2 separate regions of the Homo sapiens genome follow, and region 2 is linked to region 1. Evidence: promoter capture Hi-C in 16 types of primary human blood cells and fetal thymus (Javierre and others, 2016). All regions are on one chromosome and are shown on one strand. The core of a region is centred on a gene start or on the middle of the fragment in contact, and the rest is flanking DNA. Distances in the headings are between cores, read along the strand shown.

Region 1 (6,330 bases), core at 1,540-4,039:
CCAGCACTTTGGGAGGCCAAGGTGGGTGGATCACGAGCTCAAGAGATTGAGACCATCCTGCCCAACATGGCGAAACCCCGTGTCTACTAAAAATACAAAAAAAAAATTATCTGGGTGTGGTGGTGCGTGCCTGTAGTCCCAGGTACTCGGGAGGCTGAGGCAGAAGAATCGCTTGAACCCAGGAAGTGGAGGGTGCAGTGAGCCAAGACTGCACCACTACACTCCAGCCTGGCAAAAGAGTGAGACTCCATCTCAAGAAAAAAAAAAAAAAAAAGGAAAAAAAGAGGTTACCAGTAACCACGTATCTTGCCTTTCTAGCAGAAACAGTACTTCAGGATAACCTGATAAACAGCCCTAGTTGATGGCTCCATTTTCTATGAGAATTTCGGATAACAAATATGGTGTTGTAAACCCTTAAAAAACCCTACAATGTTGTTAGGGCACTAACCCAGTCCCTGCACTGTCGGTCTCCTTTCTGAGTTTGTGGGTTCTCTGTCTGGGTTGAGGAGGCCCTGGGTCCCCATAGACCAGTTTTTCACTCTTCCTAATGATAATGGATACCAGACTAGAAGTGACCTTTTGCCAGGACCATCATCCAGCCAGCTGGGGAAACCCAAGTGTGGTTTCCTAAGGAGGGAAAAGGGTTGCCGCTTTTCTGTGGGAAAGGGAGCTGGCGCCACTTCAGACACTCACAGCACCAGTGCTGTGCTAGACAGCAAAATGGGGGAGGATGGGCAGCCTCCCTATTTCTGGACTTTCTGCACTAAGGACCCTCCTTGGGCCTGCTCAGAATTGCCTGCTCCCTTGTACCCAGCATGGATGAAAATATGCTTTGGTTAATCTTCTGAAACAGCACATGGGAGTTGGGGAGTGGCTGTGGGTGCCTGTCTCCCTGCCCCAGTGGAAGGCTTAGAGCAGAAGGTGGAAAGAGCATGAAAGCAGGAGTCCAGACCTGGGTTCAAGTGCCAATGCCAACACTAACCTGCGAGTGATCTCTGGCAAGCCACCTGTCTTCTGCAGGCTTTCCTTTTCCTGTCTGTCAAATGAGGGGGTGGGATTTGATGGTCTCTCCGATGGCTTACTGTTAGTCCCTGGAATCTTGAAAGAGAAATGGACTCCTAGATCCTGCTCACTGAGATTGGTGTCAGCTGCCTCTGAGGGGGCGGTGGGAGGGGGAACACAGGGAAAGGTGAGTTTTAGAGAGAGGTGAGACGTGGGTTTGTGGGTTGCTTTTGTTTTTGTTTTTTTTGTTTTTTTGAGACAGAGTCTCACTCTGTCTGCACTCAGACAGTGGATTACCAACTGGCAGATTACCAACTTACTTTAGAATTTAGGAGAAATGTATTAAAGTAATTTAAATTCCTTCTACTAAGGATTGAAAAAGCTTTTGGAAAAAAGAGGAATTCTACTCTGTAGAATTCCACTCAGGCTGGAGTGCAATGGCGCGAATCTCAGCTCATTGCAACCTCTGCCCCCCGGGTTCAAGTGATTCTCCTGCCTCAGCCTCCCGAATAGCTGGGATTACAGGCATGCGCCACCACGCCTGGCTAATTTTGTATTTTTAGTAGAGATGGGGTTTCTCCATGTTGGTCAGGCTGAGGTCGAACTCCCGACCTCAGGTGATCCACCCACCTCCGCCTCCCAAAATGAGCCACTGCGCCTGGCCTAATTTTTGTATTTGTAACAGAGACGGGGTTTCACCATCTTGGGCCAGGCTGGTCTTGAACTCCTGACCTCGTGATCCACCCGCCTGGGCCTCCCAAAGTGCTGGGATTACAGGCATGAGCCACCGCGCCTGGCCTAAGAGAGGTGGGCTTTTAAAAAGGGCTTTACACCAGGCGCGGTGGCTCCCAGCACTTTGAGAGGCTGAAACCAGCAGATCACTTGAGCTCAGGAGTTCGAGACCAGCCTGGTCAAAATAGTGTACACCCCGTCTCTTAAAAAAATAAAAATTGAAAAAAATAAAAATTGAAATTAGCTGGGCGTGGTGGCAAGCGCCTATAGTCTCATCTACTCAGGAGGCTGAAGTGGGAGGATTGCCTGAGCCCAAGAGGTCGAGGCTGCAGTGAACTGTGATCAGACCGCTGCACTCCAGCCTGGGTGACAGAGTGACACCCTGTCTCAGAAAGGGGGGTTGGGAGGTGGGCTTTATTTTCCGTTTGATTGCCCATCTTAATTCTACTCTGTTAGGGCAATTCTAAAAAGAACTTAGAGGAGCTTCGCAGCCCTTCACCACCACCGTGACCCCAAATACGTTCTCTCTTTCTCCCCCCGCCCCCCACAAACAACCCCCTAAGCTTACCCCTGAGTTAGTAACCTGGTTGGGGTTGGTGATGAGGAAATCCGAGAGGCCTCTTAGAAAATATTGTAAAGGGCAAGGGTCCTTTTGTGCTCAAAATCTAGGTAAAGGCAAATACAAGATTTTGCCTATAATTTCAGAATCTCCTGGTCCACCCGGCTCCCAGATCTTGAGGATTTTCGGATGAGCAATTCAAGTGAGAGGGAAACAGAGAGCAACACTCTTAGAACCTGATTCCGTTCCTCAGCTCGCATTCCTCCGCCCGTCCCGCTCCCGCCGCCAGCGGAGGCCCTAGTCTCCCGCTCCAACTATTCCAACCATCCCGGGAAGGGTGGGGCGCTCGGCTCTTGGGTCCCCCTCCGCCGCCCCGCCTCGTCGATCTCCCCTTCTGCCCCGGTCCCTCCCTTTCTGGGGTGGGGCCAGCCAATCAGCGATCAGACTCCGGAGTTTGGCCCGGGAGCTGGGGAGCTCACCGATCCCCCGCCCAGCAGTTCTGGCCGCTGTCCCGGTGCGCACGGACGTGGCTCGAGTTTCCTCTGCTCTCCGCTCTCGCCCGCTAGCTCTCCTCCCTTCCGCTCCTGCTTCTCTCCGGGTCTCCCGCTCCAGCTCCAGCCCCACCCGGCCGGTCCCGCACGGCTCCGGGTAGCCATGGAGGACCCCACGCTCTATATTGTCGAGCGGCCGCTTCCCGGGTACCCCGACGCCGAGGCCCCGGAGCCTTCCTCCGCTGGGGCTCAGGCAGCGGAGGAGCCGTCGGGGGCCGGCTCAGAAGAGCTGATCAAGTCGGACCAGGTGAACGGCGTGCTGGTGCTGAGCCTCCTGGACAAAATCATCGGGGCCGTAGACCAGATCCAGCTGACTCAAGCACAGCTGGAGGAGCGGCAGGCGGAGATGGAGGGCGCAGTGCAGAGCATCCAGGGCGAGCTGAGCAAGCTGGGCAAGGCGCACGCCACCACGAGCAATACGGTGAGCAAGCTGCTGGAGAAGGTGCGCAAGGTCAGCGTCAACGTGAAGACCGTGCGCGGCAGCCTGGAGCGCCAGGCGGGGCAGATCAAGAAGCTGGAGGTCAACGAGGCCGAGCTGCTGCGGCGCCGCAACTTTAAAGTCATGATCTACCAGGTGAGCCCACAGGGCGGAAGGCGCCCAGAGCTCCCGCGCCCGGCCCGCGTCCCCTGCCTGGGAGTTGGGGTGGGGAGACCTGCCCGTGGCGCTGCTCCCCTCCCAGCCTGGCCCGGGCGCCCGGCAGATCCACCCTCCTTCCGGTGAGCGCGGCTGGGGTGGGGTTGGGTGGGGTAGGATGGGGTGGAGGGAGCGGCGGACTCCTGGGGCGCGTAGAGGGGCGCGCTCTGCACCTCGCACCTCCCCACTCAGATCCTTCCCTCGGGTCCCAAACTTGTAGCAGAACCGAATTAGCGGGTGGACTCGAGGACGCTGCCCCTCGCAGACCGCTCCCTCCCTAATTGGCTCTGTCAAACTTCTTCCTACTTGGGGGAAGTTTCTAGGAAAGTCAGGGGTCCCTCGCGATCGTTGGGGTCCGCTGTAAGCGGACACTGGCTGCGGGGCCCGGGCCTGGGGCCTCTGCGCCTGCGGGCCTGATATAGCGGGTGATTCAGGGCTCAGGCACGCACCAGCGGGGGCTGTGCCAAGCGGGGAACGCGACCGCCAACCTCCTCCCCAGACCCTGCGCCCCCGCGCCCCCACATCGGCCTCGGCGGCCCACCCCTGTCCCCTCGCTGCTCTCTGCTCCTGGCCACCAGGCATTTTCAGGCCCTTGAGGACACCCTCACCCGCGGCGCGCTGGCACCCTGGGCCTCCTGGAAGCGGGCGGGGCTGGGCGGGGAAGAGTGGGCGTCAGGAGTGCAAGAGGGGCTGGTGGAGTGGGTGGACAGCCCCTGCGGGGTCCGGCGGTCTGGGCGCAGTCTGGGCGAGGTGAATCACCCCGCATGCCTGCGGGGGCGGGGGCCAGGCGCAGCAGCGCAGCCGGCGGGAGGAGGCTGGCGCCCCCACCCCCCGGCTCCGCCCGGGGCCACTTGTTGCTTTCTTTGCAGCTCTCCCCATTCTTCACACTTGGATAAAAATGTAGCTTTTGGATCATAACCCCCAATAAACCTGGGAGTCTCGGGTTTCTATGCTGCTCCTCTCCACGCCGCTTCCGCAGTGCCATCGGGGATGAGATTTTGGGCTGGGCGGCAAGTGTTCCAGCCTGGCTCCTCCCCGCCTCCCAAAGGCCTGCTGATGCTCCTAACCCCAGGGAGGCGGGATCGTGTGGGGCAGGGGGGTTAGTCTATGCTCCCCTCTCCCCTTCCTCTCCCTGCTGAAGGGAATGGAAAGAAAGGGAAGGCTGGATTTCCCACACCCTCCAAGTTAGAAGACCCCTTTCCGGGAGTTGTGGCTCTGCTGACTGCTCTGGGGCCTGGTCGAGCCGGGTTCTGAGTGACCATCTGGGGTGAGGCGAGGGGGTCCTTGGCTTGGTTTCCCCAGGAGGAGTTAAGATAGATGCAAATCAGGACAAGTATCTGGGAAGAGTAGAGACAGAAAGGTGGGTCAGCTGGTACCTATCTGAGGTGGTGGGACAGAGGCAGAAGTGGCACTTGTCCCCCTCCCCACCCTTACCCACGGATGACAGACTCCTCCCAGGAGGCATATACGTGGCTTTTAAAAGCTTTACTTCCCCTACTTAAGCACTATTTAGATAGAAAATGTTTGCCCAGAGCTATTTCCACTTAGTCTAACTGCTTGGAGGACGCAGGATGAGAGGGGGGCTTTTGACGTTTTTTAAGAGACCTGCTTAGTACTGGGGACATTGAGAGGAGCGGAACAAGACAGGGGTCTGGGACAGCAAGCCAGCTCTATATTTCCTCCAGAGCCTGGTGTGGCCGAGAGCCACCATGAAGAGCTCGAGGGGTGACCCTTCTCACGCTAACTATCCCAGACCATAGAACCTGGGAAAAGTCTTGGCCTGGAGGTAAACTTCCCTATGCCAAAGATGGAGATTCTGAGAGAAGAGGGAAAGGTATGGAGGGAGAAAGACTTATCTGCAGAGGCCACTGGCATCCCTCTGTTCTGCCCTCTCCAGCAATCTGCAGGGATATGTCTATATTTTAGGGGGTGGGAGGGAATGTGTTCTAATCACAGGTGGCTTCAAATGAATCTGCACTAAACCAAGGCCAGTGGGTGACAGAGAGTTGAGGTAGTAAGAGTAGCTCAAATGGAGTCCCAAACCCACAGAGGGAATAACTAAGAACTGAAATGGTCCCAACCTGGGGAAGACTTCAGACGTAAGGAAAAGATTCCAGCAAATGGGGTGAGGCTTGGGAAAGCAGAACTTCCCTGAGCTGCAGAGCAGATGTTCCAGGTGGGGACCCGGCTGCTGGAGGAAAGCAGAGGCTGCTCCTGCTCCTCCCAGAGGTCTGCAGGCCTGAGAAGGGAAGGAGGTAAAAATAGCTCTGTGCCTTGGCAGGCCTATTAGGGAAGATTGGGGGCAGCAGCATTTATGGTAAAGTCCGGCTGAAGGGGGAGGATGTTGGGTGGCCAGGCAAAGAGACAGAGATTTGGAGAAAGTTTCCTGGGATGGTGTGAATTCTCTGGAGGGGCCATAGGGGAAGGGATGCTGTATTCCCCACTACAGGGGTGGGAGGTGATGATGTGGCAGTGGGGGCGGGGCAGAGAACACCAAGGGATGGGAAGGCCCCCGTTGTGGGATGGAGACATCTGGCCTTCCATACCCTATTCCTGGGGAGAAAAGGAGGGAATCCCTTGTATGGCCCCACCCCAAATTCAGGGAACTTCTAGACTTAATGATTTCACAGCTTTAAGTTTGCATTTGAACACACACACACACACACACACACACACACACACACGAAATTCAGCACCTCCCACCCCAAGGTATCACAGCCCTCATCTTAAACTCACTTCTGAGTCATTACTGCCCTTCTCTGGCATTTCCTTCCCTGTCTCCCAAACAAAACCTAGCAGTTTGACATTGCATTCTATCAGGCGACACTTGGCTAGCAACAGCTAGTAAATGA
Region 2 (6,330 bases), core at 1,756-4,255, 46 kb before region 1:
ACCAGCCTGGCCAACATGGTGAAACGCTGTCTCTACTGAAAATACAAAAATTAGCTGGGGGTGGTGGTGAGCACCTGTAATCCCAGCTACTCGGGAGGCTGAGGCAGGAGAATTGCTTGAGCTTGGGAGGTGGAGGTTGCAGTGAGCTAAGATTACTCCACTGCACTCCAGCCTGGGCAACACAGTGAGACTTTGTCTCGGGAAAAAAAAAAAAAAAAAGGGCCTCTATATTTAAAAGCTTTGCCAAGTTTTCTTGTTGAGCAAAGGAATGAAAGAACTTTATGGGAAGGCACATTGAACAGTGACTGTAACAATCCCTAAAGTGTCTAATATTGTCAATCTGGTGGCAAAGACACCTGTCAAGAAGACAGTTACTGTACTTTAGGCCATCAGAAAAACCACATCCAAGTTGAAAGCTAAGACTCCTCCCCAGACTGAGTTAGGAGAAGGGAGCATTCTGGAAGCCTTGCTCCAGATCCTTTCCATGGAGTCACCTCAGCACATTGTCACCTGGACTAAGTCACCTACATTTTTTTTTTGAGACAGTCTTGCTCTGTCCCCCAGGCTGGAGTAAAGTGGCTTAATCTCCGCTCACTGCAACCTCTGCCTCCTGGGCTCAAGCAATCCCCTCACTTCAGCCTCCCGAGTAGCTGGAACTACAGGTGTGCACCACGATGCCTGTCTAATTTTTGTATTTTTTGTGGAGACGGGGTTTCACCATGTTGCCCAGGCTGATCCTGAACTCCTGGGCTCAAGTGATCTGCCCACTTCACCCTCCCAAAGTACTGGGATTACAGGTGTGAGCCACCATGCCCAACCAAGTCACCTACATTTTTTTTTTTTTTTTTTGAGACAGAGTCTTGCTCTGTCGCCCAGGCTGGAGTGCAGTGGCGCGATCTCGGCTCACTATAAGCTCCGCCTCCCGGGTTCACGCCATTCTCCTGCCTCAGCCTCCTGATTAGCTGGGACTACAGGTGCCCACCACCATGCCCGGCTAATTTTTTGTATTTTTTTAGCAGAGACGGGGTTTCACCGTGTTAGCCAAGATGGTCTTGATCTCCTGACCTCGTGATCCGCCCACCTCGGACTCCCAAAGTGCTGGGATTACAGGCATGAGCCACCGCGCCCAGCCTACATTTTTTTTTTTTGAGATAGAGTCTCACTCTGTCGCCCAGGCTGGAGTGCAGTGGAGCAATCTCAGCTCAATGCAACGTCCACCTCCCAGGTTCAAATGATTTTCCTGCCTCAGCCTCTCGAGTAGCTGGGATTACAGGCAACCACCACCTCACCCGGCTAGTTTTTGTATTTTTAGTAGAGACCGGGTTTCACCATGTTGGCCAGGCTGATCTCGAACTCCTGACCTCAGGTGATCCACCTGCCTCGGCCTCCCAAAGTGCAGGGACTACACGCATGAGCCACCATGCCTGGCCTCACCTACATATTTAACCCAAGAACTTTACTAACATTTTTCCCTCTGAGGTAATGCGTCTAAGTTTATGTGATAATCCAGAAGTTTCAAACAAGCATCCTACCAATATTTTCCATACAATAAATACAATGAAAAACTCTTGAAAAATTAGTGTGATGTGTGCTATCTGAAGTACTGAAAAATGTGCTCGAAGGTTTATAAGCAAACATAGACAATGAAATAAAAATTTGATGACAAAAGGTTTGGTGATTAAACCTTTGTTATAATTTTGTCTATAACCAAATGTTTGCTTCCTCAGCTTTAACCTTAAGCATATACTTACCTTATAAGTATAAATATAATGTAAAAATTTATACTAACTATGTTTATACAACTACTTCAGGGTTCTTTTCCTCATATTGAGATGAAAAATTGAAGAAAATGTGAAAAAATGCAAAACCATGGCTGGTTGTGTACTGCATGAAAAATGGAACATAATCTCACATTTCTGTAACTAAAACAGGGTGCAAAAATGGCATTGCTTCCAAACTAGCAAATTAAAATAATTACTGGAATAAAAATATGGCCCACTTGTGTGAGTATAATATCAGCTGCTCAAATACTAAAAGAAACAATAGTCTGACCTCATCAAAAAATTGCTGAGTTTTGCGAAGTATAAATTTTAATTCGGTCAGTTCCAGGAAGTTTCTCTTCAGAGCTTCCTGGTTTGTGTTGATTTCCTTCAGTTCATTTTCAATCTTCTCAAAATTGGCCTAGATGAAATAAGAAAATATATTAAGCTAAGCTCAATATGTTTGCTCTGAAAGACATTAAATGAATTCATCCCACAGAACTGTTGCCAAGCCGATAGTTCAAAGAGAACTTGGACTTGCCTAGCAAATACTGTGATTTTACTAGAGCAATTTTCTTTATGGAAATTTTTTTGCTTAAAATAATCTCTCCTGGGCCGAGGCGGGTGGATCACTTGAGGTCAGGAGTTCGAGACCAGCCTGACCAAAATGGTGAAACCACGTCTCTACTAAAAATACAAAATTAGCTGGGCGTGCTGGCGCATGACTGTAGTCCCAGCTACTTGGGAGGCTGAAGCAGGAGAATCACTTGAACCCGGGAGGTGGAGGTTGCAGTAAGCCAAGATCACACCACTGTACTTCAGCCTGGGCAACAAGAGCAAAACTCCATCTCATAAATAAATAAATAGTCTTTCCTGGCCGGGCATGGTGACTCACTCCTGTAATCCCAGCACTTAGGGAGTCTGAGGTGGGTGGCTCATCTGAGGTCAGGAGTTCAAGACCAGCCTGGCCAAACATGGCGAAACCCCGTCTCTACTAAAAATACAAAAAAAAATTAGCTGGGTGCAGTGGTGCATGCCTGTAATCCCAGCTACCTGGGAGGCTGAGGCAGGAGAATGGCTTGAACCCGGGAGGCGGAGGTTGCAGTGAGCCAAGATCGCACCACTGCACTCCAGGCTGGGTGAGAGAGCAAGACTCTGTCTGGAAAAAAAAAAAAAAAAAAAAAAAAGTCTTTCCTTTCTAAGTCATTGTAGAAGTCAAAAAAATAGTCTTTCTTTGTTTACACATTCTATTGTATACTTGGTAACTTTCTCAGGCGATTTCAGATGGATAAAATAATTACTGAGAAGTCTACTGGCTGCCCATTTAGTCTGCAAGATTGCAAGATTAACCAACTAGTAGATAGGCCAGGTGTGGTAGCTCACACCTGTAATCCCAGTACTTTGGGAGGCTGAGGCAGGCAGATTGCTTGAGGTTAGGAGTTCGAGATCAAGCTGGCCAACATGGGAAAATCCCATCTCTACAAAAAATACAAAAAAATTAGCCAGGCATGTTGGCACACAGCTATCGTCTCAGCTACTCTGGAGGCTGAGGTACTAGAACTGCTTGAGCCTGGGAGGCAGGGGTTGCAGTGAGCCAAGATGGGGTCACTGTAGTCCAGCCTAGGTGATAGCTATGTCTCAAAAATAAAATAAAATAAAATAAAATAGTAGATAACTTACTCCAATAAGGTTTCGATAAACCAATAAACATTTACTTAGTGGCATATAATACTGTTTGAGTGCTGTTTGTCACCATAAAAGAGGGGATTCATATGGTCTGGCCATAAAAAAAGAATAAAATCATGTCATTTGCAGCAACATGGATAGAACTGGAGGTCATTATGTTAAGCGAAATAAGCAGGGCACAGACAAATAATACAAGTTTTCACTCATATGTGGGAGCTAAAAAAGTTGATCTCATAGAGGTAGGGAGTGGAATGATAGATACCAGAGGCTATGAAGGGTGTGTGGGTTTGTGGGGGGATGAAGAGAGGTTGGTTAATGTGGACAAACATACAGTTAGATAGAAGGCATAAGTTCTAATGCTCAATAGCAGAGTAGGGTGCCTATAGTTAACAGCAATGTACTGTATATATTTCAAAATAGCTAGAAGAGAAGAATTGAAATGTTCCCAACACATAGAAATGGTAAATACTCAAGGTGATGGATACTCCAAATACCCTGACTTGGTATATACACATTCTATGTATATACCAAAATATCACATGTACACCATAAATGTGTACAAATATTATCTATCAAAATCCCACCTACAAGAAACTTACAATCAGTAGATAATGCTGACAAAGTTAGCAAGAATTACTTTACTCTCTATCTGCTCAGGAAAGTAATTTCTGCGTTCAAGTAGAAAGAAACTTTTCTGGTTTTCCCAGAAGTGTTTACCTCTAAGTCAATCATGTCCCGGGGGAAGGGAACCTCTGGGTTTTCACCGGTGTCCATAATCGGAATGTTAGCTTTTCTTATCTCTTTCTCAACAAATCCTAAAATGACAGAATCAAAACATTCATGTCTAACTGCACATGCTCGTAATTGCCATTATTTAAGGAAAAGAATTAACATCTAAGACCTGGTTACAAAAAGTTTTATTCAAAAAAGATACTTTATATATATATATAAAAGATATAATATCTTTTAATATGAAAGAAGCACCTTTTTTCTCCCCATCCCTCTTTCTCCTTCCTCACATTCTCTAAAGTTACTCCAAAGGGTGGTCATCCCACAACTGCCTTCTTTCCTTCTTCAGGTCTTAACACTGGCCTTCAAGGCCACACCTCTCCTCCATACGCGAATGCCACTCCAAAGTATGACAGTTCTGCTTATAGATATTATTGGCAAAGCAGAGTTATGAAGAAGAGTATAATGCAATAGAATATTTGACACTTAACACACTAGTGAGACAACTCTAGATCTAAAGGGGTTCATTAAATTTGAAAACAATCAGGTCAGTTTTAAGCATAAAAAACAAAAATGAAAAAGCAGAACAGGTAATAAGGACACAAAATACCAGAAGAGAAGAGTGTTTCAGGTAACAACTACAACTGTTTTTTATAGTGGGGACCAAATTCACTTATCAGCTAACCATAAGCTGGCTTAGTAGAGTGGCAAGATCATGGACTTTTGAGCCAGAGAGAGCAACCTGGCTTCAAATACTGATTCCATCATAACTGTTTATGATCTAGGGCAAGTCATTAAGCCTCTCTAATCTTTAGTTTCCTCAATTATTAAATAAGATAATACCCATCTTGAAGGAATGTTGTGGAGAATGAATAAAGTAATGTATATGAGCAACCTAGCCCTCAAGAGAACTTAGATAAATGTTAGTTTCCTCCCTTTTTTTTTTTTTGAGACGGAGTCTCGCTCTGTCGCCCAGGCTGGAGTGCAGTGGTGCGATCTCAGCTCACTGCAAGCTCTGCCTCCCGGGTCCATGCCATTCTCCAGCCTCAGCCTCCCCAGTAGCTGGGATTACAGGCGCCTGCCACCACGCCCAGCTAATTTTTTGTATTTTTAGTAGAGACGGGGTTTTACCATGTTAGCCAGGATGGTCTCGATCTCCTGACCTCGTGATCCACCCGCCTCAGCCTCCCAAAGTGCTGGGATTACAGGTGTGAGCCACCGGGCCCAGCCAGTTTCTTCCCTCTTAAATAGCTCAAATTAAAAGGTGGCTCTGCTGACAAAAACTGATGGTGTGCTGGGTCCTATTTCTCAAAATTCTATCATGTAGTTTTGTTATTAAAATCTCACAAAAAAACAACCAGTTTTCAGTTTGCAGCATGTTATTTCAAACGAGGTTTCCATTAAGCACTACTTAGCCCAAAGACCACAAAATCTACTCGTATACGAGAAATACACCTTGGCATCTTAACTGCAAGATTTTTCCCTTTTCTCTTATAACATTTTCTTCCTCTATTAAGAGGACTAATGTCACTAATCTAAGACAAATGATTCATTAAAGGAACATTACACAAGACCAAAGTGCACATACGAAGCTTTCGATCCATTTCTTCACATCTTCTAACTTCATTCACAAATTTCCGTTGGAAAACATTCACATCTGGATTTAACTGAAAAATAAAAACACAATACCAAACATTGAAATATTGTATCTATTTCTTCTGTTTCTCAAGCAACACATTCTGCAAAGCGAAAAACTAATTTTCTGTCAATGCATGATGCAACACTAATCAAAACTGTCTACTGATCCAAAAAAACTGCTTTATGGCCAGTCACACCAGCTAAGGATAAAAACTTCCTCCCTCGTTGCTGCAACATTACTGGAATGGAGGCAAATTAGGTAAAACACAACGGTACAAAAATGTTCTTCCTAGGCAAAAGTCTCAGTGAGCTTCCTTCCCACCACCTAAAATTTGGGCAATGAATATCACAGAAGCTCTCTCTGGTTTTCCTTCTTTCTTTCCAAGCACAAGAGGAACTTCTCTTGTTTTTCTGTCCCAAGGCCTTCACCTTCTCAGTGACAGGCTTTAGTTTATTCATTCATACACCACAAGTAATTGCTTTTTTTCTTTTTGAGACAGAGTCTTGCTCTGTCACC

What was found. The method cuts DNA at HindIII sites, captures the fragments that hold promoters and counts their contacts. A CHiCAGO score of 5 or more calls a contact.
Region 2: a contact is called between a fragment that was not itself captured here and the fragment with the promoter of CAVIN1 in region 1, in 4 of 17 cell types (megakaryocytes, M2 macrophages, endothelial precursors and 1 more). The highest score is 11.5, in megakaryocytes.

What each region holds. Positions count from the first base shown.
Region 1 is chr17:42,419,715-42,426,044 of GRCh38, reverse strand. CAVIN1 (caveolae associated protein 1) reads left to right here and starts at 2,789. Exons shown (of 2, transcript NM_012232.6): 1 at 2,789-3,418. The coding sequence starts at 2,948. It overlaps LOC102725238 (a long non-coding RNA gene), which reads right to left and starts at 2,857. Exons shown (of 4, transcript XR_007065758.1): 1 at 2,773-2,857; 2 at 983-1,154. The HindIII fragment of the contact is 2,664 bases long and covers 2,300-4,963 here.
Region 2 is chr17:42,465,941-42,472,270 of GRCh38, reverse strand. ATP6V0A1 (ATPase H+ transporting V0 subunit a1) reads right to left here. Exons shown (of 22, transcript NM_001130021.3): 3 at 5,764-5,842; 4 at 4,164-4,261; 5 at 2,053-2,181. Among named protein-coding and RNA genes, the nearest start is that of ATP6V0A1, 10 kb to the right of the region's middle. The HindIII fragment of the contact is 5,529 bases long and covers 241-5,769 here.